Regions from separate parts of the Homo sapiens genome. Here regions 1, 2 and 3 are each linked to region 4. Evidence: promoter capture Hi-C in human tissues and cell types (Jung and others, 2019). All regions are on one chromosome and are shown on one strand. Each heading gives the region's core, a stretch centred on a gene start or on the middle of the fragment in contact. The rest is flanking DNA. Distances are from core to core; before and after follow the strand shown.

Evidence for each region. The method cuts DNA at HindIII sites, captures the fragments that hold promoters and counts their contacts. A contact is called where the count stands out against the background at its distance.
Region 1: the fragment with the promoter of TXN2 here is called in contact with the fragment with the promoter of NCF4 in region 4 in 1 of the 25 tissues and cell types used here (thymus).
Region 2: a fragment that was not itself captured here is called in contact with the fragment with the promoter of NCF4 in region 4 in 2 of the 25 tissues and cell types used here (bladder and thymus).
Region 3: a contact is called between a fragment that was not itself captured here and the fragment with the promoter of NCF4 in region 4, in 3 of the 25 tissues and cell types used here (dorsolateral prefrontal cortex, lymphoblastoid cells and spleen).

What each region holds. Positions count from the first base shown.
Region 1 is chr22:36,477,844-36,483,436 of GRCh38, forward strand. It overlaps TXN2 (thioredoxin 2), which reads right to left and starts at 3,797. Exons shown (of 4, transcript NM_012473.4): 1 at 3,721-3,797; 2 at 2,732-2,994. The coding sequence starts at 2,994. RefSeq lists an enhancer at 4,227-5,173. The HindIII fragment of the contact is 22,621 bases long and covers 1-5,593 here.
Region 2 is chr22:36,588,732-36,595,068 of GRCh38, forward strand. The region is part of intron 1 of CACNG2 (calcium voltage-gated channel auxiliary subunit gamma 2); the gene reads right to left. Among named protein-coding and RNA genes, the nearest start is that of EIF3D, 63 kb to the left of the region's middle. The HindIII fragment of the contact is 7,923 bases long and covers 1-6,337 here.
Region 3 is chr22:37,152,176-37,158,566 of GRCh38, forward strand. It overlaps a transcript of IL2RB not described here. Among named protein-coding and RNA genes, the nearest start is that of IL2RB, 5.5 kb to the left of the region's middle. The HindIII fragment of the contact is 5,288 bases long and covers 2,498-6,391 here.
Region 4 is chr22:36,855,929-36,862,255 of GRCh38, forward strand. NCF4 (neutrophil cytosolic factor 4) reads left to right here and starts at 5,078. Exons shown (of 10, transcript NM_000631.5): 1 at 5,078-5,275. The coding sequence starts at 5,244. All of the region lies in intron 1 of NCF4-AS1 (NCF4 antisense RNA 1), which reads right to left. The HindIII fragment of the contact is 13,239 bases long and covers 1-6,327 here.

The DNA of each region.
Region 1 (5,593 bases), core at 2,547-5,046, 380 kb before region 4:
GTGTTTTCTTTGGCCGGGTGCGGTGACCCACGCCTATAATTCCAGCACTTTGGGAGGCCGAGGCAGGCGGATCACCTGAGGTCAGGAGTTCAAGATCAGCCTGGCCAACATGGTAAAACCTCGTCTCTACTAAAAATACAAAGATTAGCCAGGAGTGGTGGTGTGCGCCTGTAATCCCAGCTTCTAGGAAGGCTGAGGCAGGAGAATCACTTTAACCTGGGAGGCAGAGGTTGAAGTGAGCTGAGATTGTGCCACTGCACTCCAGCCTGGGCGACAGAGACTCTGTCTCAAAAAAAAAAAAAAAAAAAAAAGAGAAAGTGTTTTATTTCACCCACAGGCTACTCTGATCCCACAGCCCCTGAGTTGACCATTATCACTGCCCTGATCATAGGTATTCCCCTCTCGCTGGGGAAGCTCATCCAGGACAGGCCTGGTGCTGTCATCTCTATGTATGTGGCACCAAGGAAAGTGCCTGGCACTGAATGAACAACTCACACCACCCCACTTCCTTACTGAACAAAATGAGGCATTATCCCATTTATTGTTCATTTCGGAAGGCCTCTCTGGAATGCTCACTACACCAGGAGGCCAAGACAGTTCCACCTTTCACAAACCCCTGGCTGACAACTCCTATTTTATTCTCAGCACTTACTTATTTATTTTTGAGATGGAGTCTCACTCTGTTGCCCAGGCTGGAGTGCAATGGCGCGATCTCGGCTCACTGCAACTTCCGCCTCCCGGGTTCAAGCAATTCTCCTGCCTCAGCCTCCTGAGTAGCAGGTGTGGTGGTGCACACCGCACCCAGCCAGGCCTGACGGTTTTAAATGCTGAAAAATAGGCCGGGCATAATGGCTCACACCTGTAATCCTAGCACTCTGGGAGGCCAAGGCGGGAGAGAATCACCTGTGGTCAGGAGTTTGAGAGACTAGCCTGGCCAATATGGTGAAACCCCGTCTCTACTAAAAATACAAAAAAATTATCTGGGTGGTAGTCCCAACTACTTGGGAGGCTGAGGCAGGAAAATTGTTTTAACTCGGGAGGTGGAGGTTGCAGTGAGCTGACTGAACCACTGCAGTCCAGCCTGGGTGACAGAATGAGACTCTGTCTCAAAAACAAAAAAGGAAAAAAAACCCTCAGGCCTGGCGCAGTGGTTCATGCCTGTAATCCTAGCACTTTGGGAGGCCAAGGTGGGAGGATTGCTTGAGATCAGGAGGTAGAGACTGCAGTGAGCCGTGATCGCACCACTGCACTCTACATTCTAGCCTGGGTGACAGAGTGAGACCTTGTCTCTAAAAGAAGAAAAACAAAAACAACTCATAACACTGAAAAACCCAGTGTGCAAGACCTTATCTCCTATTACAAGTGAAGAAAGGGAGCACAAAGATATCAAGTGGCCTGCCCAAGGCCACAGGGTGAGTCAGAGAAACAACTGGAAAGCCAGCGAAACAATCTGTCAGAGACCTGACCAGAAGGCCCTTCAATTTCTTTTTCTTTTTTTTTTTTTTTGAGATGGAGTTTCCCTCTGTCACCCAGGCTGGAGTGCAATGGCGCGATCTCAGCTCACTGCAACCTCCACCTCCCAGGTTCAAGCGATTCTCCTGCCTCAGCCTCTTGGGTAGCTGGGATTACAGGTGCCCGCCACCACGCCCGATTAATTTTTGTATTTTTGGTAGAGATGGGGTTTCACTATGTTGGCTGGGCAGGTCTCAAACTCCTGACCTCAGGTAATCCACCTGCCTCGGCCTCTGAAAGTGCTGGGATTACAGGTGTGAGCCACTGCGTCCGACCTGAAGGCCCCTGAATTTTTAACTTATGCTACACTGGTTTCTCCCAGGATGCCTCATTCAGAGGGCTTTGTCCAGCTTTTGTGTAGTTGGGTGTCTAGCCAGGCCCCAAAGATCTAGAAATGAAAAAGCCCAGGCTAAAATTCAGAAGGCCAGAGGGACTTAAATATCTCTAAAGCAAACTCAGATAGCACTGAAAGGAAACTCCTTCCTATGCCCTGTATGCTTGGGCACCACGGTAGTGACACCGATAACTTTTTTTTTTTTTTTTTGAGATGGAATTTCACTCTTTTTGCCCAGGCTGGAGTGTAATGGCGCGATCTTCAGCTCACTACAAACACTACCTCTTAGGTTCAAGTGATTCTCCTGCCTCAGCCTCCCGAGTAGCTGGGATTACAGGCACACACCACCACGCCTAGCTAATTTTGTATTTTTAATAGAGACAGGGTATCACCATGTTGGCCAGGCTGGTCTTGAACTCCTGACCTCAGGTGATCTGCCCGCCTTGGCCTCCCAAAGTGCTGGGATTACAGGCATGAGCCACCGCACCCGGCCGACACTGATAACTTTTTGCCAGCCCTTCTTGCGGTTTTCATGGCAGGATGTTAACATCAGCTTATCTGCAGGGCCAGGAACTGGTATACACCAAAAGCAAGGTGACAGTCATATTTTTCCAACTCTGGTCCATGCTAAAGATGACGCTGAGCTTTCTGGGGATTGAGAAACAGAACATGTGTTTCCCAGCACTAACAGTCAGCTTTGCAGACTGTTCACTTGTCTGTCTTCCACCAGACTGCATTCCCCTTGAGGGCAGGGACTGGGCCTGACCAGTCTGTATATTGAGTCTACATATGAGCAGCATAGAACATGGCCGTGGGACACAGCAGGCATTCAATAAATACTTGAACAAGTAGGACCCTAGTCTTCTGTGGACCCCCAATACTCACTGTGCGTGGAAATCCACAACCACTGGTGTCTCACTGTTGACCACTCGGTCTTGAAAGTCAGGTCCATCCTGGATATTAAAGGTTGTCAAGGAGATCCTCGTGGTGTATATTGTCCGGGCTGGGTTGGGTGTTACAGTCAGGCCACCAGGACTGCATTGTGGGGTCTGCAGGGCTCTGGAAGTGAGGGGTGGCCACTGACCCTGAGAGGGCTTCCTGGAGATGACAGAGGCCAGGAACCTCCTCAGAAGAAGTCGCTGAGCCATCTGTGAGGGAAAGAGGCAGAAGAACTGGGGCACACAAAAGGAAGTCGACACACTAGAAAAAGATTTGGGGAGTACTCAGGGCTCAGGAAGAGGCAGAGTTGGAAGCAAAATGCAAGGAAATCATATGTAAGATTTGTAGCGTGGAAGTGAGGAAGCAATGAGAATCAAAGGGAAGGAACAGCTAGGCAAACCAGAAGGACAGGAAAACTGGCTTCACAACCAAAAAGAAATCGGGATTTAGATTATAACGGAAGAATGGGAGGAAGAAACCAACAGATTTAATAATGTATGTAAGGACCAAGTACCTTACACACATTATTGGTCTTCCTACAGCAACTTCCAGGAAGTTGCTATTGTACTGCCCACACTGCGAGTAAGGGAAGGAATACGAGGCTCAAGTAAGTTAAGTGACATGCCCAAAGTAACCCCGCTATTAAATGACAGCCAACACTGGAACCCAGGGTCGTCTGAAAAGATGAAACGCAACAATTCAAGGAGGAACTAAGAGTGTGAGAGGAACCAAAAACGAAGAGACATGTACTGGAGGGAACCAATAAAGAAGGGACATGTGTGGAGGGAACTGGGAAAAATCGGACATCACCAGGGACCCTGGCTCTCCGGCGAGCTAGATCCCCCCGCCCGCCCGGCCGCCAGCCTGCGCAGGAACGCGCTCGCGGCATGCCTCAGCCGCGACACCACCTCGAGCCACCCCCACAGGGCTCCTACCTCCCTGCAATGCGAGCGGAGGGATGCACAGCCTAGCCCTCCCTGCCTGTCAAGGGCACGCCTGTCGTCACTTCCTCGGGGGGGGACGTACATAACGTCACTTCCGGGTACAGGCAGGCGGAAGAGCGTCCCTCTCCAATTTTTTTTTTTTTTTTTTTTTTTTTTGAGCCAGAGTCTCGCTCTGTTGCCAGGCTGGGGTGCAGTGGCGCGATCTCGGCTCACTGCAACCTCCGCCTTCCGGGTTCAAGCGATTCTCCTGCCTCAGCCTCCCGACTAGAGGCGCGCGCCACCACGCCCAGCTAATTTTTTTATTTTTAGTAGAGACGGGGTTTCACCACGTTGGCCAGGACGGTCTCGATCTTTTGACCTCGTGATCCGCCCGCCTCGGCTTCTCAGAGGGTTGTGATTACGGGCGTGAGCCACAGCGCCCATCTGTCCCTCTCCAATTTGAGGGGCGTCTGGGATTTTCCGCCAATGGGAATGGCGGGCTGAGGCACAGTTGAAGGGGCGGGGCCTCAGCTACGGACCGGAAGCAATGGGCAGGCCGTCGGGGAACGGATTGGAAGAGGCGGGCGGGCCCTGGTCTGGGCGAAGGCGGGGGCGGGGCGGGGCGGAAACGGAAGGGGTGGGCGGGCCCTAGAGGAGGGACCGGAAGAGGAGGTGATGGAGCAGGGGTAGCAATGGAGGGTACTTAAGGGAGAAAAGGCAGTTGAGAAGTCCCCGTGGTTTTGGATTTTGCAAACTCTTGTTGCTTTATTTTATTTACATATATTTATTTATTAATGACAGAGTCTCGCTCTGTCTCCCAGGCTACAGTGCAGTGGCGTGATCTCCGCTCACTGCAACATCCAAATCCCGGGTTCAAGTGATTTTCCTGCCTCAGCCTCCCAGGTAGCTGGGATTACAGGCGCGCGCCACCACGCCGGGCTGATTTTTGTATTTTTAGTAGAGACGGAGTTTCGCCATGTTGGCCAGGCTGGTCTGGAACTCCTGAGCTCAAGTGATCCGCCCGCTTCAGCCTCCCAAAGTGCTGGGATTACAGGCGTGAGCCACCTTGCCTGGCCTCCTGTTTATAACTGGCGCTGTCCACTTCCTACAGATGTTGACAGGTTCTGTTTCTCCATTTAATATGTAAAGCTAAGCTCCTCAAAGGCATGATGCCCTTTATATGTAAAAGAACTCAACCGGGAGTTTAGGGGCCATCCTTTAAGTGGCCCTCGTCTGTGTCCGCCTAAAGGAAAACAAATGAAAACTGAGGCGAGCCTAATTTAAGCAGGGAGTTTTTTTGGGTCAAGTTCGAAGACTGCAACTCGGAGCAGAGATTCAAGTTGTCCTGAATATACACTCGGATTAGCAGCAGCTGAAAGAGCGTTTTTAAAAGAACAGGCAGTTTCCAAATTGTTGATCAAAGTTTTTTTTTTTTTTTTTTTTTTTTTTGAGACAGAGTCTCGCTCTTGTTGCCCAGGCTGGAGTGCAGTGGCGCGATCTCGGCTCACTGCAACCTCTGCCTCCTGGGTTCAAGGGATTCTTCTCCCTCTGCCTCCCCAGTAGCTGGGACTACAGGCGTGCCTCACCACGCCTAGCTAATTTTTATATTTTTAGTAGAGACGGAGTTTCACCATGTTGGCTAGGATGGTCTCGATCTATTGACCTCATGATCTGCCCACCTGGGCCTCCCAAAGTGCTGGAATTACAGGCGTGAGCCACTGCACCCAGCCTTTTTTTTTTTTTTTTTGAGACGGAGTCTTGCTCTGTAGCTAGGCTGGAGTGCAGTGGCATGATCTTGGCTCACCGCAACCTCCACCTCCAGGGTTCAAGGGATTCTCCTGCCTCAGCCCCCCAAGTACTTGGGATTACAGGCGAGCACCACCAC
Region 2 (6,337 bases), core at 2,701-5,200, 270 kb before region 4:
TGCATGTTGAGTAGTCAGAACAGTGCCTGACACATTTAGGAAGTCCTTGGGGGCATTGACGTGAGACAGAAATGAAATTTGACTGTGTCCAGCCACCAACATAGTAGCTACTGTGACCTAATTAATACAGCCCTCAATACATGTTGGCAATGATTTTCTTCTACAGTCCTGAGACTATGTCTTATAAAATAGGGGCAGATTCTAGTATGTGTCATAGATATTAATTAGGAATTTTACGGTATTATTACATATACCTTTTTTTTTTTTTTTTCCCCCTGAAATGGAGTCTCACTCTGTCACCCAGGCTTGAGTGCAGTGGTGTGATCTCGGCTCACGGCAACCTCCAACTCCCAAGTTCAAGTGATTCTCCTGCGTCAGCCTCCTGAGTAGCTGGGATTACAGGCACATACCAACATGCCCAGCTAATTTTTGTATTTTAGTAGAGATGGGGTTTCACCATGTTGGCCAGGCTGGTCCCCCACTCCTGACTTCAAGTGATCTGCCTGCCTTGGCCTCCCAAAGTGCTGGGATTACAGGCATAATCCACTGTGCCCAGCCTAGACATATATATATATATGTGTGTGTGTGTATAAAATAGACCTATATATTAGGTTGGTGCAAAAGCAACTGTGGTTTTTGCCATCAAAAGTAATAGTGAAACCGTAATTACTTTTGCATCAACCTAATAGTACACAGGTATATAGTATACAGGGATACTTACGTACTACGTAGGAATATAAGCATTTTAGGAACTTCTGGCTATGATTATATGCTGCATATAATGGAAAAGAGGAATCTCTGTAACTCCCTTTCACACATGAGCTATCCCTGTACCAAATTCACTAACTTTCTTGAGTTCTACAAGAAAAACAATTCCCCAGACCATATCGGGACTTCTGGTCGCTTCACTGAAGCTTGGTAGGGCCACTCAAAATGGTCCCATGGACAGGTGTCTTCTCTGAGTGTTTTGGGTTCCCTGCTTTTTGCTGTCCCCACCCCCATCGTGTCATGGCCCCTCTGCCCTCCTGCATCTTGGGGTGTTAAAAGGAAGCCTTGTCCCCTCCCTAGTACCTTGTTTTCCTAATCCAACCATGCACCCTTCTCTGTGGGAAAAGTCTTCATACCAGCTGCTAAGAGGATAACAAATTCTCCCTATTGTTAAAATTACAAATCAGTGTATTTGAAAAGCACTTCGCAAAGCACTCTCATTTTCTTTCAATTCAATCTGACAAATATTTCAGCAAGCCGGTGCCAGGCATCTTTATAAAGAATCTGTGCAGGAGTGAGGCTCAGAGAGCAGTACTGACATGCCCTGAGGCGTCCCACAAATTGAGGACAGAGCTTCACCCAGCAGGGCCCCAGCTGCATCCTGGTGGGCCACACCCGCTCCTGTTCCCCGCAGGAACAGGAGCTCACATTCTACGGGGAGCCTAGTTGCTCCTTGTGTGCAAGCCTGGGCTTCACTCATCCTTGGACCATTGGCTCCTAGCGCAGTGCCTGGCACAGAAGCAGGGTTCAGGAGATGCTAACAGAGAGGCCGTGCGAGATAATCAGTGGCCCAGACCTCTCCTTGAGGCCTGGACCTGGGTATCCAGCTGCCTATTTGACATCTCCTGGTGGATGTTTTAAAGGCACTGAACATGAACTCCTGATCTTTCCCTCTAGCCTGGCACTCTGGAGGCCCCAGTTAGCTTGGCGAATGCTTCTCCAGGGTTCCCTTGTGTAAGCCTGAGCCTAGTTGTCAGCGCTGACATCTATCTCTTCCTCCTCCCTGCAGGCTCCATCCATCAGGGCGTCCTGTCTGTATTAGATCCTTAGTGTCTCAAACTTGCCTGATGTCTCTGAGACAGCACCGCCCACTACCAGGCCACCATCCCTGCTCCCTGGATGGCTGCCGCGGCCTCCCCACTCATCAGTTTGCACCCACTCTTATCCTTCTCTACAGAGCTATGACAGTGATCCTTTGTACATGCAAATCTGATCATGCCACCTCCAGCTCGGAAACACTCCAGCTTCCCAGTGCTGTCGGGGAAAAGCTCAACATCTCTAACAAAGCCTGACCCCCAACCTCCACATCTGGCCTCACCTCCCACCCACCTCCTCCCTCCCTGTGCATCTCTGCCTTCTTTCCTGCCATGCTCCCTCCTACCTCAGGACCGTGGCACATGCATGCTGGTCCTGCTGCCTGAACTCCCACCACGTCCTCTGTTGCCTCTTTCTCCTAACCTCCTTCTGCCTCCCTGCACTGTGCTACTGGGGTGTCCTCCACTAGCTGGCTAGTGCTGGCTGCTCTATGTTGGGGGGAGATATATTTTTTTTTTTTGAGACGGTGTCTTGCTCTGTCACCCAGGCTGGAGTGCAGTGGCACAATCTCGGCTCACTGCAAGCTCCGCCTCCCGGGTTCACGCCATTCTCCTGCCTCAGCCTCCAGAGTAGCTGGAACTACAGGCGCCCGCCACTACGCCCGGCTAATTTTTTTTTTTGTATTATTTGTAGAGACGGGGTTTCACTGTGGTCTCGATCTCCTGACCTCGTGATCCGCCTGCTTCGGCCTCCCAAAGTGCTGGGATTACAGGCGTGAGCCACCGCGCCCGGCCTAAGGGGGGAGATATTAAAGCCTGTATGATACTAGTGGGAATGTTCTAGTAGAGAGGGAAGAAGGGAGGGGCTGGGGGCAGTGGCTCAGCCTTAGCTTTAGGAAGCTGAGGCAGGAGGATCCCTTGAACCCAGCAGTTCAAGACCAGCCTGGGCAACATAGCAAGACCCTATATCTACAAAAAATAAAAACAAATTAGCCAGATGTGGTGGTATGTGTCTGTGGTCCTAGCTTACTTGGGAGTCTGAGGCAGGAGGATCCCTTGAACCCAGGTGTTCGAGGCTGCAGTGAGCTAGGATAGCACCACTGCACTCCAGTCTGGTGACAGAGCAAGACTCTGTCTTGAAAATAAAATCAAAATAAAAAAGTAAAAGAAAGGAGGACAGAAGGGATGACCTGCAGAGATGGGGGAGCAATACAGGTGCACTGTGCAAGGAGATGAGGCCCAGGACACAGCACAAGGGGGGTGGTGCTGTGCCAGGAGGGACAGCAGAGCTCGTGGGTGCAGTGCTGGGGATGGGCAGACATGGTGGGAGGGTGTAACACTTCTCTTCTGTTGCTTCTATTTTCCCAACGAAATGGGAAGCAGGATCATCAACTGAGAGTGAGGAAGGGTTGGGGACGGGAGGACAGGGGAAGGGAAGCGAGAGTGGGAGACAGTGGACCAGGCTGTGAAGTGTGTGTGTCAGTGGCTTGAAGGTCACTTCTGAGATTCTGTGGTTTTCTCTGGCCACATTTGTGGCATGGGTGCAGTTAGCTGGAGAGTTGCGTCTAACCAGGAGGAGGTTTGTGAGGTGAGTGCAACAGGGAGAGGGTGGAATGGGAGGGATTATGAGGATGGATATGGAGTCTAAGCTGGGTAAACAGGGAAATGAGGTCCTGAAGGGCAAGTGAGGCAGTGCAAAGGCGGGGGTGGGGGGTGGAGCGGGGAGGGCAGTCAATGCTTTTGAGCCTGGGGTTGGGGTGGGGTCAAAGCATTGTTGAAATGGGGGTGCATGGGAGTGAGCTGCAACGGTGGCACGTGGTAGCCAGAGAGTGGGATGCAAAAGACAGAGAGTGGAGGGGGTGTGGATATTGGAAATGCCAAGGGCAAGGGTAAGACCCCGAATGAGGTGGCTTGGGGCAGGCAGAGGTAGGGATGATCTTCAAGTATGCACTGGAAAGGTCACACAAATTAATAGATAAGGCAAAACTACAACATTCGCTGTTGTTTTCTATATACATCGAGTATATATTAAGAAACTGCCTACCCGGTTAAAATTTGAAGTGCAAATGATTCATCAAATTATTCTAATAAGCCCCAAATCACCGATTGGTTTTTAGAAATGAGTGGTGTGATCTTTTGATGATGAGGCTGTTATGAGCTAAATGATGGCTTGACTGGACCATGCTTTGACACAGGAAACCACACCAGATGCTCCCCAAGCTTCCCTGTTAGAGTAAGGGTCATTCCACCTCGGCGAGTGCAGAATCTTCTCCTAAGTTGTCCTCTACGGTTCGACTAGAGGACCTCTCTGTGCCCAGCAGCCCCAGGAGGTCAGGGCCGGGAATGGGAAGGTAGTGGGAGGCTGTGAGAGGGGTAGAGGCTCTCATCGGCAGGGCAGTGGTGTGCGCCCAGCCCAGCCCAGTCCCACCAGTCAGGACCAGTAGGGAGACTCTTCTTCTCTTGCCCCCATCCTTGGGGCGGGCCTTGGAGTTTATAGAACCTGAGAACAGAGCTGAGTCCTTAACCCAGCCTTGGGGAGCGAGGAGAGGAGATGGAGCCTTGGTCCCAGCCCTTCTCTTCTCTCTGCCCCGCCCAATGCAGGAGCCACCCCTTCCCCCAGCCAGCTTCCCTGACATAGTAAGACTGATCGGTACAACAGTATTTCAATATTTAACAACCAGTGAGGCAGCACCGGCACATCAGGTTGGAGTGAAGGGGTCACGGCCAGGGACTGGAGGGGCTGATTTCCTGGTTGTGGAATCTGCAAGGATGATAACGGGAGCAGCATTGGAGGCAAAGGCAGTGAGCCAGCGCTCAGCTCCCCAAAGACTGAATGGCGGCGGCCATGAGGGAGTCGGACAGGTAGGCTGGGATGTGTTTCACAGAGGCAGGGAGTTTAGGGAGGAGGCAGGGAAATGGACCGGAAATGTCGATGAGGCCCAGGGAGGCCTGGGATGTGAGCAGTAAAACACTCTCGACAGTGAGAGTTTGCAGGGGCGGTGGTGTCCTTCGGGGAAAGCCAGATTTCCATTAGAGCAAGGACAGAATGGGGGGATTCTGCTGGCACTGTGACCTAAATTCTAGAAGGTGCCATGGCAAGGATTTAGGAGGGCGGGGGAGTTAGAGATCCAGCCAGATCAGAGGACACACAGCCCTGAGGGACAAGTGATGAGTAGGGAGGAGTGATGGGGTAAACTGGGATACAGGTCACTGTGCGATTGGTCCCAACGCCTCTGGTGGCCATGAGGCTGTGAGGGTCAGCTGGAGGAGCACAGGGTCTCCAGGAGCACTTGGAGCTCGGTGGGCCCTGGATTCAGTCTGATTAATGGTGGTGCTGGGGAGAGGTATAGGAGGGGAGGGGGCACTAGCAGCACTCAAGCATTAGTGGTGAAATTTGAACTTCATAGGACATCTACGTCAACAGACATCACTCCAGTAAGGGGAGAGTGGTGAGTGGTGATGAAATGAATGAGATTTCATTTCCCTAAGGCCAGCCTAGGGTTCCATTGTATTTCCTTCTGGTTGGTGGTAATCCACCCCAGGGGTTGTGATGGCTTCAGGCACAGATGGATCCAGGTGCTCCAAAATCTGGAACCTCTCTCCATCTCTGACTTTCCTCCCAACTAGCTTCATTCCTAGGCACCCTCTGTCCCTGTGGTAGAGACTAAGGGCCAAGTGCCTGGCACTGGGATGGTAGAGGAAAATCTAATCTCATCTCTGCCTTCCAGGCTCACATTCTAGGGGCAAAGACAGATAGTACAGAACTTACTAGAGTGCAATCCTTCACATACTATATTAGAAGGAGGTATGAGGCCTTATGGCAGCACAATTGTTCAGCTATCATTTATGTAGCACCAATTGTATGCCACGCTCCATGCAACCTGCTGAGAACAGAGGGGGAAAAATATACTTTCTGTCCTCAAGGAACTTGCAGTCTATGATGGCAGACAGAAAACACACGCTGTGGTGTAGAGGATGTGTGTGATGACAGAGGAGAGTGGAGCGTGTCTGGGGCACACAGATGGAAGGTGTGTCCAGGCGAGGGAGTGTGTGGGTGACAAAGGCCTCCTGAGGAGGAGCAGGTGCCTGAGCTGACACAAAGTGGAGAAGTCAGCCTGATGAAGCAGGGAGGGGTCCGTGTATGCCCGCGTGTGTGTCTGTGTGTGTGTCTGTGTGTGTGTGCATGTGTGTGTGTCTGTGTGTGCATGGGTGTGTGTGCGTATGTGTGTGCGTGCATGGGTGTGTGTGTCTGTGTGTGTGTCTTGTGTGCATGGATGTGTGTCTGTGTGTGTACATCGGTGTGTGTGTGTGCATGTGTGTGTGTGTGCATGGGTGTTTGTGTGTCTGTGCCTGTGTGTACATGGGTGTGTGTGTGCATGTGTGTGTCTGTGTGTGCATGTGTGTTTGTGTGTGTCTGTGTCTGTATGTGGGTAGTTTTGAATGCCTACTGTGTGCTCACTGGGCAGGGTGAGATGAAGTCTGCATATGTGTGTGTGTGCATGTATGTGTCTGTGTGTGCATGTGTCTTTGTGTGT
Region 3 (6,391 bases), core at 3,892-6,391, 300 kb after region 4:
CAATATTGATTCTTCCAATCCATAAACATAGAATATCTTTTTATTTTTTGTGTCCTCTTCAGTTTCTTGCACCAACGTTTTATAGTTTTCATTATAGAGATCTTTCACTTTTTTGGTTACGTTTATTCCTAGGTATTTTATTTTATTTGTAGCTATTCCAAATGGAGTTATTTTCTTGATTTCTTTTTCAGATTGTTTGCTGTTGGTACATAGAAATACTACTAACTTTTGTATGTTGATTTTGTATTCTGCAGCTTAACTGAATTTGTTTATCAGTTCTCATAGTTTTGTGGTGGCGTTTTTAGGCTTTTTGAAATATAAGATAATATCGTCTACAAACAAGGATAATTTGACTTCTTCCTTTCCAATTTGGATGCCCTTTACTTCTTTCTCTTGTCTGTTTGTTCTAGCTAGCACTTCCCAGAGATGACTATCAGGTCTTTGTGAACAATTTGATGGTCACTTACTGAACATTCTAGAACCTTCCTCTTCCTCTCAAGTCATGGTTCCTAACCCTTCTCCCCCTTTTTTGGCGGGGGAGAAGGGTGGCGTGGGAGCTCAGCTCAGGGCTCTTTTTTTTAAATGATGGAAACTTATGGATTGGTCTTTAGAAAAATGCACATCTATTTACGTGCTACATCACAGCCCCATAGACCCTGTGAAGTTCCATCCTCAGAGCCCAGAAGCAGCAGCTCTGCTTCTTCCCTTTCCTGATTCCCTGTTTCAGAGGGGTTTTATTGCAAGCTGTGGCCTCTTTTTTTTTTTTTTTTTTTTTTTGAGACATAGTCTAGCTCTGTCACCCAGGCTGGAGTGCAGTGGCACAATCTCGGCTCACTGCAACCTCTGCCCACAAAGTTCAAGCGATTCTCCTGCCTCGGCTTCCCGAGTAGATGGGATTACAGGCACGTGCTACCATGCCCGGCTAATTTTTGTATTTTCAGTAGAGACGGGGTTTCCCCATGTTGGCCAGGCTGATCTTGAACTCCTGACCTCAGGTGATCCACCTCCCTCGGCCTCCCAAAGTGCTGGGATTACAGGTGTGAGCCACTGCGCCCAGCCTGCCACCTCTTCTGAGAAGAAGAGAGAGAAGAGCAGAGACGGCAGCTCTGCAAATGTGAGAAAAGTGGAATTCAAGACTCCAAAAAGAGAATCAGGCCCAACTCCCATGTGCAAAGCCCGCTGCTGGAAAAGAAGAAGCGTGGAGCACTGCTGCCCAGGAGGGGCAGGACTGGAGATTGAGGCTGTGACTTAGGCCTCCCTGTGCTTCAGTGTGCAGACCTACCAAATGAAGGGAGAACTGGACAAGAAGGTGTGTATAAAGCATTTAATGTGACCACGCACTGCAGGCTTGCTGTAAGGGCCAGTTCCTTCCACACTGCCCTTCCCTCTCCTCTAGAGTAAGGCTGTCTGGCGGCAGGAGAGGATACTAAACACAACAGCCACAACCATGAGAATAACAGCCAACATTTATTAAGCCTCAAATATTCCCAGAAGCTTTGCAAGAAATTAGGAACGCCGGTTGTCTCAGGGAGGAGAGCCAGGTGAGGAAGGGTTAGGAAGGACGCTTTTCTCTATAGACCCTTTTGTATGGCATGAACATATTTCCTGCCCCCAAATAAATGAATTCAGTTAAAACTTTAAAAGCACACACATACAAAGAAAAGAAAAATGCATCCGCAGCCAAAGCCAGAAGTCACAGACCCAGCTTGCAAGGAGCAGCTGCGTACAGCTATTTCATCCATGAGACAGCATCAGTCTGCCTGGCACATACTGCCCAAGACTCTTCTTCCTCCTCATCCTGCTTTCCTTCTTTTATTTATTCAACAAACATTTACTGAGCACCCCAGATGCCCCAAAGACCAGGTCAGACACAGGAAGCCTGAGGCGCGCAGCCCAGGCCAGCGGGGTAGGACCAAGGGAGGGAGGTAGGCCACTCTCCACCCTCGTGCCCCTGAGATGTGCAGCAGCCAGGAAAGTGGGGAGCAGAATGGGGGATGGTGCAGCCCCCACATACAGAGTCTCCCACCCCAGGAGACAGGGGATGGAGCCGGTTTGTTCTTTTGTCAAGGGTCCTAGCCCAGAACACCTCAGATGGAGAGGCAGGGAGGGGGCTACGCAGAGAATGATTCTCCTTCACATCCTCTATGTAACACCTCATGGCCTGTGGGAGCACGTAGGAGGGAAACCTGGTGGAATGGGTCCCCAGGCCATGGCGTGCACCCTCCTCCCGGCATCAGCTCGGGTCTGCTTCCCAGCCTCCCTTGCAGTGAGCTGGGGCTCCAGAACCAAGTCTGGCTAATGGGATGTGGGAGGAAGTGATTTATTCTACTTCTAGGCCTAAAAAAAATCTCACCTATGATCTCCTGTGTCTCTTAATCCCTCTATCTCTCTTTTTTTTTCTTTTTTTTTTTTTGTTTTTTAGACGGAATCTTGCTCTGTAGCCAGGCTGGAGTGCAGTGGCGCGATCTCGGCTCATTGCAAGCTCCGCCTCCCCGGTTCAAACAATTCTCCTGCCTCAGCTTCCCGAGTAGCTGGGATTACAGGCACACACCACCACACCCAGCTAATTTTTGTATTTTCAGTAGAGATGGGGTTTCACCATGTTGGCCAGGACGGTCTCGATCTCCTGACCTCGTGATCTGCCTGCCTTGGCCTCCCTAAGTGCTGGGATTACAGACGTTAGCCACCACGGCCGGCCATCCCTCTATCTCTTTCTCTCTCTCCCCTCCCCTGCCAGAATCCAGTGAAGTTTTGGGTAGAGGGGCTGGAGTCCCTTGAAGGACAGGCCCTCACCCCTCCTCAGACAATTCACACTGGGCTATAACTTGAATGAAAAATAAACCTCTATTGTTGGGCCTCTGAGACCTGGGGACTGCTGTTTCTGTTTTCTCTGACTCATACAGTCTGTCCCCCAGGTGCTACAGCTGAACATAAAACCAGGTGAGGAGGGGTGAGACAGTACGCCAGCAGAAGCCCAGAGGCATGGGTGGCCAGCAGGGGTGTGCAGAGAGGTGCACCTGCTTTCTTCAGCCCCTGCCCTGCTCAGAGCCGTGTCATCTCCCACCTCAGCAGGCCCATGGTGGCCTCCGCCCTGGTCTCCCTGTTTCTATTAATACTCCTGACTCTCTGGTCTGTTCTCCACTCAGCGGCCAGAGCAACCTTTCCCAAACTCAAATCACGTCATTTCACCCCCCAGCCACTCCCCATCATACACACTCAAACCTTCCCAGTGCATTCACAGTAAAATCCAAACTCTCAGTCTTGACCCACATGTCCTACAGGGACTGCCCCATCTTCATCTCTGACCCTGCCTCCTGTGCTTTCTCACTCTGTCAGGGCTTTGTGCATGCTGAGCCTGCTCTTCCCTTGCCATTTTACAGGCCAGGAAACCAGGCCTCATGAGTCATCCTACCAGAATGTGGCAGAGCCAGGATTAGAACCTAGGTCTGTCCCAGAGGACATCCGATTCTCTCTGAGGCAACCTGAGATGTAATCCAGAAGCTTCTCTGATGGCAGAGCCCTGACAGAGCCCACTCGGGCCTACCCAGACCTGGGTCTCAGGAGTGCTGGGGTTTGGACCCAGCCTCCTCCACGAGCTCCACGCCTTGCTCCTATAACTACTTCTCTTACGTCTTCCACATCCCCACCTGACCCTCTGCGCTGCATCTTCATGGGTCCCACTGGGAACAAACCGCCTCATACCCTCTGTTTCCATGCACCCAGTCCCACAGCCCTCCCACCACTGGACCCAGACCCCTCTTTCACAGGGGCCATGGGACAAGGGCATATTGGGGTCTTCCAGCCCTGATGTCCTTGGGCTGTCTTTTTTGGGGCCAAGCCAGACTGCATCCTCCTCAGTCCTGGTATCTGCCAAACGCCCTACCCGTCCTCCCTCTGCTCACTGGAGTGCTTGGCCCTTGCGCTCAGCCTCCCTCTCCACTCCGCCTCCCAGGAGATGTCAGGGTCCACACTGTAGCCTCCAGCCTCCTGTTCCCTCTGAACTGCTCCATACCAGTCCCACACCCAGGCCTGCACTTGCACCCTGCCATCATTCTGACCTGTGTTAACCAAGACCCCTTGAACTTCCACCTCAGCTCACCCGCGTGCTGCCATCACCGCCTCCACTGTACAACAGTGTCCCAGTTAGGATGAAGTTCAGCTGCGTGTGTCCAAAGAGAACAGAAGAAGAAAACAGTGACCTAAAATAAGAGAGGGCTTTATTTCTCTCTTACATAAAAGAAGTCCAAAGGGAGGCCACCCAGGCTAGGTGGGGTGGCTTTATGATGTCAGGATCCTGAGCTAAATCTGGCTTGCTACTAGGGTCTCTTCAATATCCTTCTCCCATCTCCTCATAGACCAAGAGAGCTATTCAAGCTCCACCCATCACCTCTGCGTTCCTGCAGATGGAAGGGAAAGGAAGGAGAGAGGGAGGGCTTGCCTCTGCCTGTTAAGGACCCTTCCCCAAAGCTGCCGTAGCCACTTCTAATGTACATCCCATTGGCTACGCCTGAGTCACATAGCCAACCAAGCTGCAGAGGAGGCTGGGAGATGTAGCCAGCTATAAGTAGAGGGCACACGGGCAGGGGAGAGCAGGTTTGGGGGTGCCATTCACTGTCTCTGCCACCGCCTGTCCTCTGCCATTGTGAAGACCTCCAGTATCTCCAGGGCCACCTCCCTTCCTGCCCTCCCTGGCTCAGCCAGCTGACACTGTCACCCACCCTCAAGTCCTTGTGTTCCGCCCACCCCTGCTCGGTGCTGTGACCTGTCTTCTGGAAAGTCAGCAGGTAGCCGAGTCCCCAGCTGGAAAAAAAGTCCTGCCCCCACAGTGCCAGGCCTCACCAGTGACCTGGTTTTGAGTCCTGGTCCCTGGTCAGGAGGACTATGGTATACATAATTTGGTGTCTGACCCTCCGCCCAGTCCCCATCAGACTGTGGGGTACCCCTCATGACAAATGAGGATCACAAAGCTGCAGGGGCCCACAGAGGGGCCAGAGCAGAACAAGGAGAAAGAGCAGGCTAGCGGCCGACTTCCTGAGGGCTGTCCTCCGAGCATGCCCCTCTGCTGACACCTGCTCTTCACTGGAGGCGCCCCACCCACCAGTCCCCAAGACAGACTGTGGCCATTCTCCCTGACTCCTTCCCTCCCTCACCCCCTCCTTCCAAGCCATCACCCTTACTTCTGCTTTGCCACAGCAGCCACCTCCACGCCAGCCCCCCAGGCTCCAGACCTGAAGCCCCACGTTCTTCCCTGTTCATCCGGGAGCTGCCTGCTTCATAGCCACACCAGCACCAGCGCCCTGAGCAGCTCCTATCTTGTGCAAACCATGCCATTCCTTACCAGGATCGCGCCAAGGTGACCAGCTGTCCCACTGTGCCTGGGACTGAGGGGGGTTTCCAGAACATAAGATTTACAGTGATATTCCTAGGACAAAGTTGGTCACCATATTCCCACCCTACTTACTCAGACTAATCAGCTCCCCGATTTAAAACCAGTCCTTCCCTGATCTCCAATTCTGGCCAAGGCAGATTCTGGGCACAAGCCAGTTACCATATCTCATGTCAGAGCCTTGCTTATGAGTCTACACCAGGAGCTCTTGGACAACAGGAACAGTGTGGGATTCATCCACACCACTCCAGAACCCAGAAAATTACCTGACATACGGACAGTGTCAATATGAGGGGAAGGAAGGAAAAAAGGAAAAGAGAAAGAATCAAAAGTGCTAAGTCCCTAATACCCTGAAGAGTCCTGAGAATACACATTAAAAACACCAGGATAGCATATTTGAAGTTTCAAAAGCTTTGCCATCAAAGGCAGGTTGAAAAGGCGAGTCACCCTGCTGGCGTGGGCTTCAAGCATCTCCCTGGAAGGCAATCTGACATCTACCAACATCTCTGACACATGACCCAGCAATTCCACACCTAAAACTCATCAACAGAGTGACCCATGTTGAACACGTGTGTACAAAGTAACTCCTGCAGTCACGGGACCCGAGGCCAACAAAATGCGCATCCATAGGGGACAGGTGATGAGCAAATTAGGGAACTTCCATCCAGTGGAATGCCACGTAGCTATGCCAAGATAGGAAGGGGAGGGCTGGGCGCGGTGGCTTATGTCTGTAATCCCAGCACTTTGGCAGGCTGAGGCGGGCGGATCACGAGGTCAGGAGATCGAGACCAGCCTGGCCAACATGGCAAAACCACGTCTCTACCAAAAATAAAAATTAAAAAAAAATTAGCCGGGCGTGGTGGTGGGCACCCCGTAGTCCCAGCTATTCAGGAGGCTGAGGCAGAAGAATCACTTGAACCCGGGAGGCAGAGGTTGCAGTGAGCCAAGATTGCGCAACCGCACTCGAGCCTGGGTGACTGAGCAAGACTCCGTCTAAAAAAAATA
Region 4 (6,327 bases), core at 3,828-6,327:
TGATACTAGATGAATGCTTGTGGAGTGAATAAATGAATGAATGAGGGCCAGTACAGCAGTTATTAAGTGTGGGTCTTGAAGCCAGACTGATGTGAGGTCCAAATCTTACTCTGCCGGTCATTAAGCAAGCCGCTTTGGTTTATTTTCCTAATCCCGTAAAGCCTGGGTTTCCTTATCTCCCGGTGGGGATAAGAATACCACTATTTTATGGGGGTTGGTGTGAGGATTAGGTAACAACAATCAGAGCCAACATGGACCAAGCCAGGCTGTGGGCCAGGCACTGTACTAAGGGCTTTGCAAATGCTAGCTCTCGTGCTCCTCCTGGCAATTTCACGGTGTAGGGGTGGTTACACAGTCAACTCTCAGAGTGACTTGGCTGTTACCGTATTTATGATGGTGGAGAGGAGATTCAGGATTCTTAGCCCCTGGGGGAAGCTTCCCCTGAGTGCAGCTCAGATTCTGGCTGATAGGGCTGTCTGGAGAGGTTGTCTGAGCCAGCAGGCTGCGCGCTCTGCCTGGCCAGCTGCAACTTGACTCTCGACTTGGCCGGGTCCTTCTAGTGCGGCTTATAGCATTCAACCTCCTCTAGGTGGCGCTGCGGAGCGGGGACTCGGCTGCTGATCGCGGCGCCCCCTGGCGGTCTGTTCCCGTCAACATTTAGATTAAGCGCAGAGCCGGTTCCGCCAGGGAAGTGCGCGTCCCGGTGCCCCCGCGTGATGAGAGCGGATGACAGATTGCGGGAAAAAGTTAGAATGTAACGTTAGTTGTATGACAGAGAGGACCAAGCTGTGCAGCAGAGGGAGACAGAAAAGGGAGGGACCAAGCCACAGCAAGGAATGATCGTCAATAACATTAACGTCTAGAATTTATTGACCACCTGCTATGCGCGAGCCACTGTCCTAAACATCTGGTATTCATTCCCTTAGTTAACACACCTCTAGTAAGTGCGTGTCTCAAGAACAGTGTCTGTGTTTCATTTAGGGCCTAGCACACAGTGGGTGTCTGGCACATAGTAGGTTCTCAACACATTTGGAAATGAATAATACAATAATCCTGCAATTTTTCTCTCCAATTAATAATGTAGAGGCAAATATTATCTCCATTTAGAAAACTGAACAATGGTCGGAGAGTTTGCACAACTAATGCGTGACACAGCGAGGGCACACGAGGTTTAGACCCAGCTCAGCCGTGTGCCAGGGCTTCTCAGAGAAGAGAAGACCCTCTGCCTTCAGGGAGTTTGCTGTCTAATTGGCCACGTCTACACCCTCCCTGCCTGGGTGGCATGCCAGGGATGGCTATTTATGGCTCAGGGAGGAGGTCCAGTGAAGTTCCCCTCATAAATTATAAAGGGAGACACATGTGGGTCAAGATTGGGGAATTCAGTGTGTGAGGGATCCCCAGGAATCTTACACTGTCCAATCAGGGATTTTCCTTCTCTTACCCTGGAGAGTGGCTGATGTAGGCAGTGGGGATTTGCTGAGTACCTATAATGAGCTCTCAAGGGTATCTCCTGGTCCTGTAGAAGAGGCTCACCTCCTCCCTATCACAGAGTTCCAGTTCCTATGGCTGGAGCTCTCAGCCCCAGCCGCTGGCTGCTCAAAGGAGAGTTTCCTCATGTCCAAAATGGGGGCTATGGTTTATCTTGTATACCCCAGCACCTGCATGAGGAAGGACTGAAAAGTGCTGTGCACTTTTGTGATTCGCACATCCAGTCCCCATTCAGGCTCTGGGGATCCCCCAGGCATGGTCTTGGTGTATTAGACTTTTTCCTGGAGATGTGATTATGAATGGGCATTAGTAAGTGGTGTTATGCAGAGATGCCCTTCTCTGAATGGCCTCTGGTATTTGTTTTTTGAGTTCTTGAGAACATATATATTTTTTGGTATTCCATGGTCTTTATCATTGTCAGGCTGTCACTGAACTGTCGCTTGCATTTGGCTGCCCCTGGTAATTTTCTTCCTTCCCCTAACTCACTGCTTCAAGTTCTTGAGTTGGCAGGAAGAGAGGACCAGGCTCCTTTTATATTTCTTCTGTGAATAAAATATGCCAGTGTCAATGCATAGACTTTGAGCTATCAATTCTAACCATTCAATGGCTTTTCTCTTTTTTTGGTTTATTCACAGGCTGTGGGATGTGGAGGTTATCAAAAATCAGGTCTCCATAAGTGAGAGGTCACTTCAGGCATTTCTTTGCACTTATCCAAAAAAGATTCCATCCATACTTGTTTAATGGAACGTGTGAAGAGCTTGGCTCCTCTTCCAGGTCATCCCTCTGCCTCATTCTCCCCCTGCAGCAGGAGCAGCAAGAGCCCGGTTCTGGAGTGGGAGTAGAAGGTACAGGCATTGCTGCAGCGGCAGGACAGGAGCCCATTGCTGACAGAGTGCCTGGCCTCAAATTACACTGTATCAGAGCTCGGGCATAAAATTGGCAGCAGCGTTCTGTGTATGAGGAGACAGAGAAATACCTGTATTCAGCAGAACCACGGGCAGGGACAGAAGAAAAGGAGAGAAAGAGGGGAGGAGGGGAAGAGCTGGCCCGTCGCGGGCTCTTCCCTGGACATCTTTGTCCCCCAGGTGCAGAGGTGGCTTCCCAGTGGCTGAGTCAGGGCCACAGGAGGTTTCTTGGGGGGTTGGGGGGGCCGGGGTTTGGAGGGCAAGCCATGAAAATACCTGGGAAGGTAAACTTGAGGGCTTAACCCACCTGAAACACACACATACAGATATACACACTGAAAACGATTAAAAAAGGAATAAGAAATGTCCATGTGTCTAGGCACTTTTATACAGTTTTCTATTAATTCCTACTACAACTCCATTAGGCAAGACTGTTTCACAGATTGGTGAAGAAGAAAGGTTCAAAAAGGACATGTTATCTTGCCTGAGTTCACCTATTATAAATGTACTTGTGTTTATACTCATTTGTCACCGACTGCAACCTAAACATCTAAACACATTCTCTCACAGCCACAATGCCACCACTATACACATTATATGGTCTTTTATAGACACAACACAAATGCACTTACACTTGCCTATGCGAGCTGTATGTGTTTATACACAAATATGTGTTTCCAACTATAGGCATATACTACACACACAGTTTACACAATCACCTACAAATTCTGTATCATGCTTGCTTGCTAAAATTGTTTTGCCACTTCCTGTCCTTCCTGACCAACTGTAGGCCAATGTCCTCCTCTTCCCTCAGTTATGGCTGTGTGCTTGCACCTGTTGGTACTTACAGACACCTGCACTAATAACCCTGCTCTGTGTTTCATTTCATCCTCTAGCCTGGGAGCCCCGAGACACCAGCAACTCATCAGACTTATTGTTTGTATTATTTCTAGTTCTTTGGGTGTGAATTCTTCATGATGTGGAGGCTCTGAGCTGTCTTTCACAGCTCACGATTTGTAGTTTTGGTCTGTGAGTTGACAGAGTAGGCCCTGCAGAGTCACTGACTCCAAGCTGTTTTTATATAATGCCTCAGCTTAGGATTTCTGCACCACGTGGGTAGCTTATATCGGGGCCTTACACCAGTGCAGAGGGCAGGCTTGAGGCTGATCTGGTACACACGTCCCTTGTTCCACCCATGGACTGTGAGAGGACCTCAGCTCCTGCCGTGACTCTAGGCTGATGGCTGAGAAACTCTGTTCCCATAATCAGTTCTGACACCCACTTTACACTGAGAACTCAGATTTGACTTTCTGCTAACAGCAGGACCTGTGGCCTGTACCTAGTCCCAGATTTGGCATTAAAATCTCAGCCCAACAATGCATATCCAATCTTGGTTTTCCCATGGGCTGTTGGCCACGTTCCTCTCCCCCTGGTATAGATTCCTGACCCCTCTCTTTGATCCTACCTAAAAATTATGCTTTCTTGTTTTTTTTAGCTGGGACTTGTATGTTTAAAGTAGTTTAAAACAACTTTCTGCTCTGCATGTATGAATACGAGTGTGTGAGCGTGTGTAGCTGGCAGGGAGTTACTGGGTGTGGCTGTGCCAATGACTCCTGTGGACCTCTTCTCAGAGAAGTCCCTTCAGAATCAAATACCCATACCTGTTAGGAGCTGCAGTCACTGACTGGCAGCGTTTCATTCATTCACTGAATATTGGTTGAGCACTTGCAATGTGCCAGGCACGCTGCTAGCCAAGGAGGCAGTCATTAAACATACAGATAAACAAACAAATGTGAGATGACAATAGTTATGAGTGCTCTGCAGTAGACGTGCAGGGACCTGTGAGAGAATGTAGTAGGGAGGGCCTTAATTTAGGGTGTGTGGTCAGGGAAGGCCTCGCTAAAGATGTAGCTTCTAAGCTGAGATGCAAAGGAGGCAGTGAAGAGCTTTTTCCAGCAGAGGGAACACCATGAGCATAGGCCTTGGGGCGGACGTCTTAGAACATTCTAGAAACGGAAAGGAGGCCAGTGAGAAAAAGGGAGCTCAGGAGCAGAGGCTGGGGAAGGCTGCAGGGCCTCAGGGGCATTGGAGGCAGGCAGGGCAAGGACTCTGGACTTTATCCTGAGCACAGGGTGATGGGGCAGGAGAGTTTAAGCAGGGAGGGTGAAACTCACTCTGATTGGCAGCCCTGTGAAAGAGGATTGGCTGGGCATGGAGATCTAAGGATGAGGAAAGGATATCCCAGAGTGCCAGGGCGCGCAAACCAAACTTCACACTCTAGGAAGACAGAGGCCAGAGGAACCAGGAGGGCTTCCTGGAGGAGGTGGCATTTACTCTGGGCCTAAGAGATCACAGGAAAATGGAGGCCAGCATTCTAGGCCTGGGGAAGAGTTTGGGCAAAGGCTTGGCAGTAAGAGAATAAAGGTGGGGCTTGATGGGCCAGAGGATAAGTGACTCCTCAAGGTCACAAGACACCCTGATGGCTGGGACCCCATCTCTGATGGAGCAAGGCTTCTGATACCCAACTGAGGCTTGGCGCCAAGGACTGACATCAAGGAAGTGGATTCCTGCAAACCTGGCACCCGAGGGTCCACTTCCTCAATTTCTGTGCAGCTGGGAGGTGAGGTAAGAGGAAGTGTGGGCCACAGGCTAGGCCCAGAGAGCCTGGAGGAGGAGCCTCTGCCAGACTGGAGAGAAGCAGGCCTGAGCCTCCCCAAAGGCAGCTCCTGGGGACTCCCAGGACCACAGGCTGAGACGAGACGCAGGGTGGCTGGAGGAAGTGAGAGGTGAACTCAGCCTGGGACTGGCTGGGCGAGACTCTCCACCTGCTCCCTGGGACCATCGCCCACCATGGCTGTGGCCCAGCAGCTGCGGGCCGAGAGGTGAGTGCCGGGGTGTGGCCGCCCCCGGGCCTTCTCACTGCTCCTCATAGGCCTTAGGGACAAAGGCCAGTCCTTCTGCAGTCCCTGATCAACATGAGAGGCTGGGGTTGAGTCAGAACCCAAATACTCAGAAATGCAACCTCTCAGAACTGCTTTAACGAAACTTTGAGCTGTGGCTCACCACCCTCAGACACAAATGAGAACACTGAGGCTCCAAGAGTGGGAGTGACTTGCCCACGGTCACACAACGAGTGACCGGCAGTGTCTGGAGAGGAATGCAGGTGTCCTGGGTCCCAGGCTGGGGCCCTTTGCTTCACATGGTGATCAGCAATGACTTTCCATCTTCTGCGCAAACAGAATTCACAGAATCTGGCTTGTTCTTCCGCTAATCAGGGCTTGCCTCAAATGTCACCTCCTCCAAGAAGCCTTCCTGACAGCCCCTACCTCATTGCTGTCTGACCCTTTGCCCTATTTCCCTTTTCTGCCTGGTTCTTATATTACAGGAATAATATTATATGCTCATTTATTATTTTTTCTTGAACGTTGGCTCCCCCATGAGAAGCAAGCTCCACGAGGCTGTGTCCGTTTTGATCGCTGCTGTATCACTAGGAGGTAGCTCATCCCTATTGAGCACCAGGACCAAGGGCTCAATAAATGTTGCTGAATGAATGAATAAATGAATGAATGAATGGGTGGATCTTTGAGACGGAAAAGGTCTTAGATTCTTCTAGTCCAACCTTGCCATTGTACAGATTGGAAATCTGAGGCCCAGGGAGGATAAGAGACTTACTCAGGGTCACAGAGAGTGACTGGCAAGGTTGGGGCTTGGAGCACGGCCTCACCAGCATCTAGCCTCGTCGCTTGGGAAGCATTTTCAGAATTTTTCCTCAGTAGCCAGGTCTGAGCTCTAAGCTGCGGGGGCCCTGAGGACGCAAAGCCTGGCCCCTGCACCCCCTGGATTGGAACAGCAGGTGACCTCTGTTACCTACGTGGAGGCCACTCAGGGGGTCACCAGAGACAGGCCAGGCTGGTGTGTGCCTACGCGGGGAACA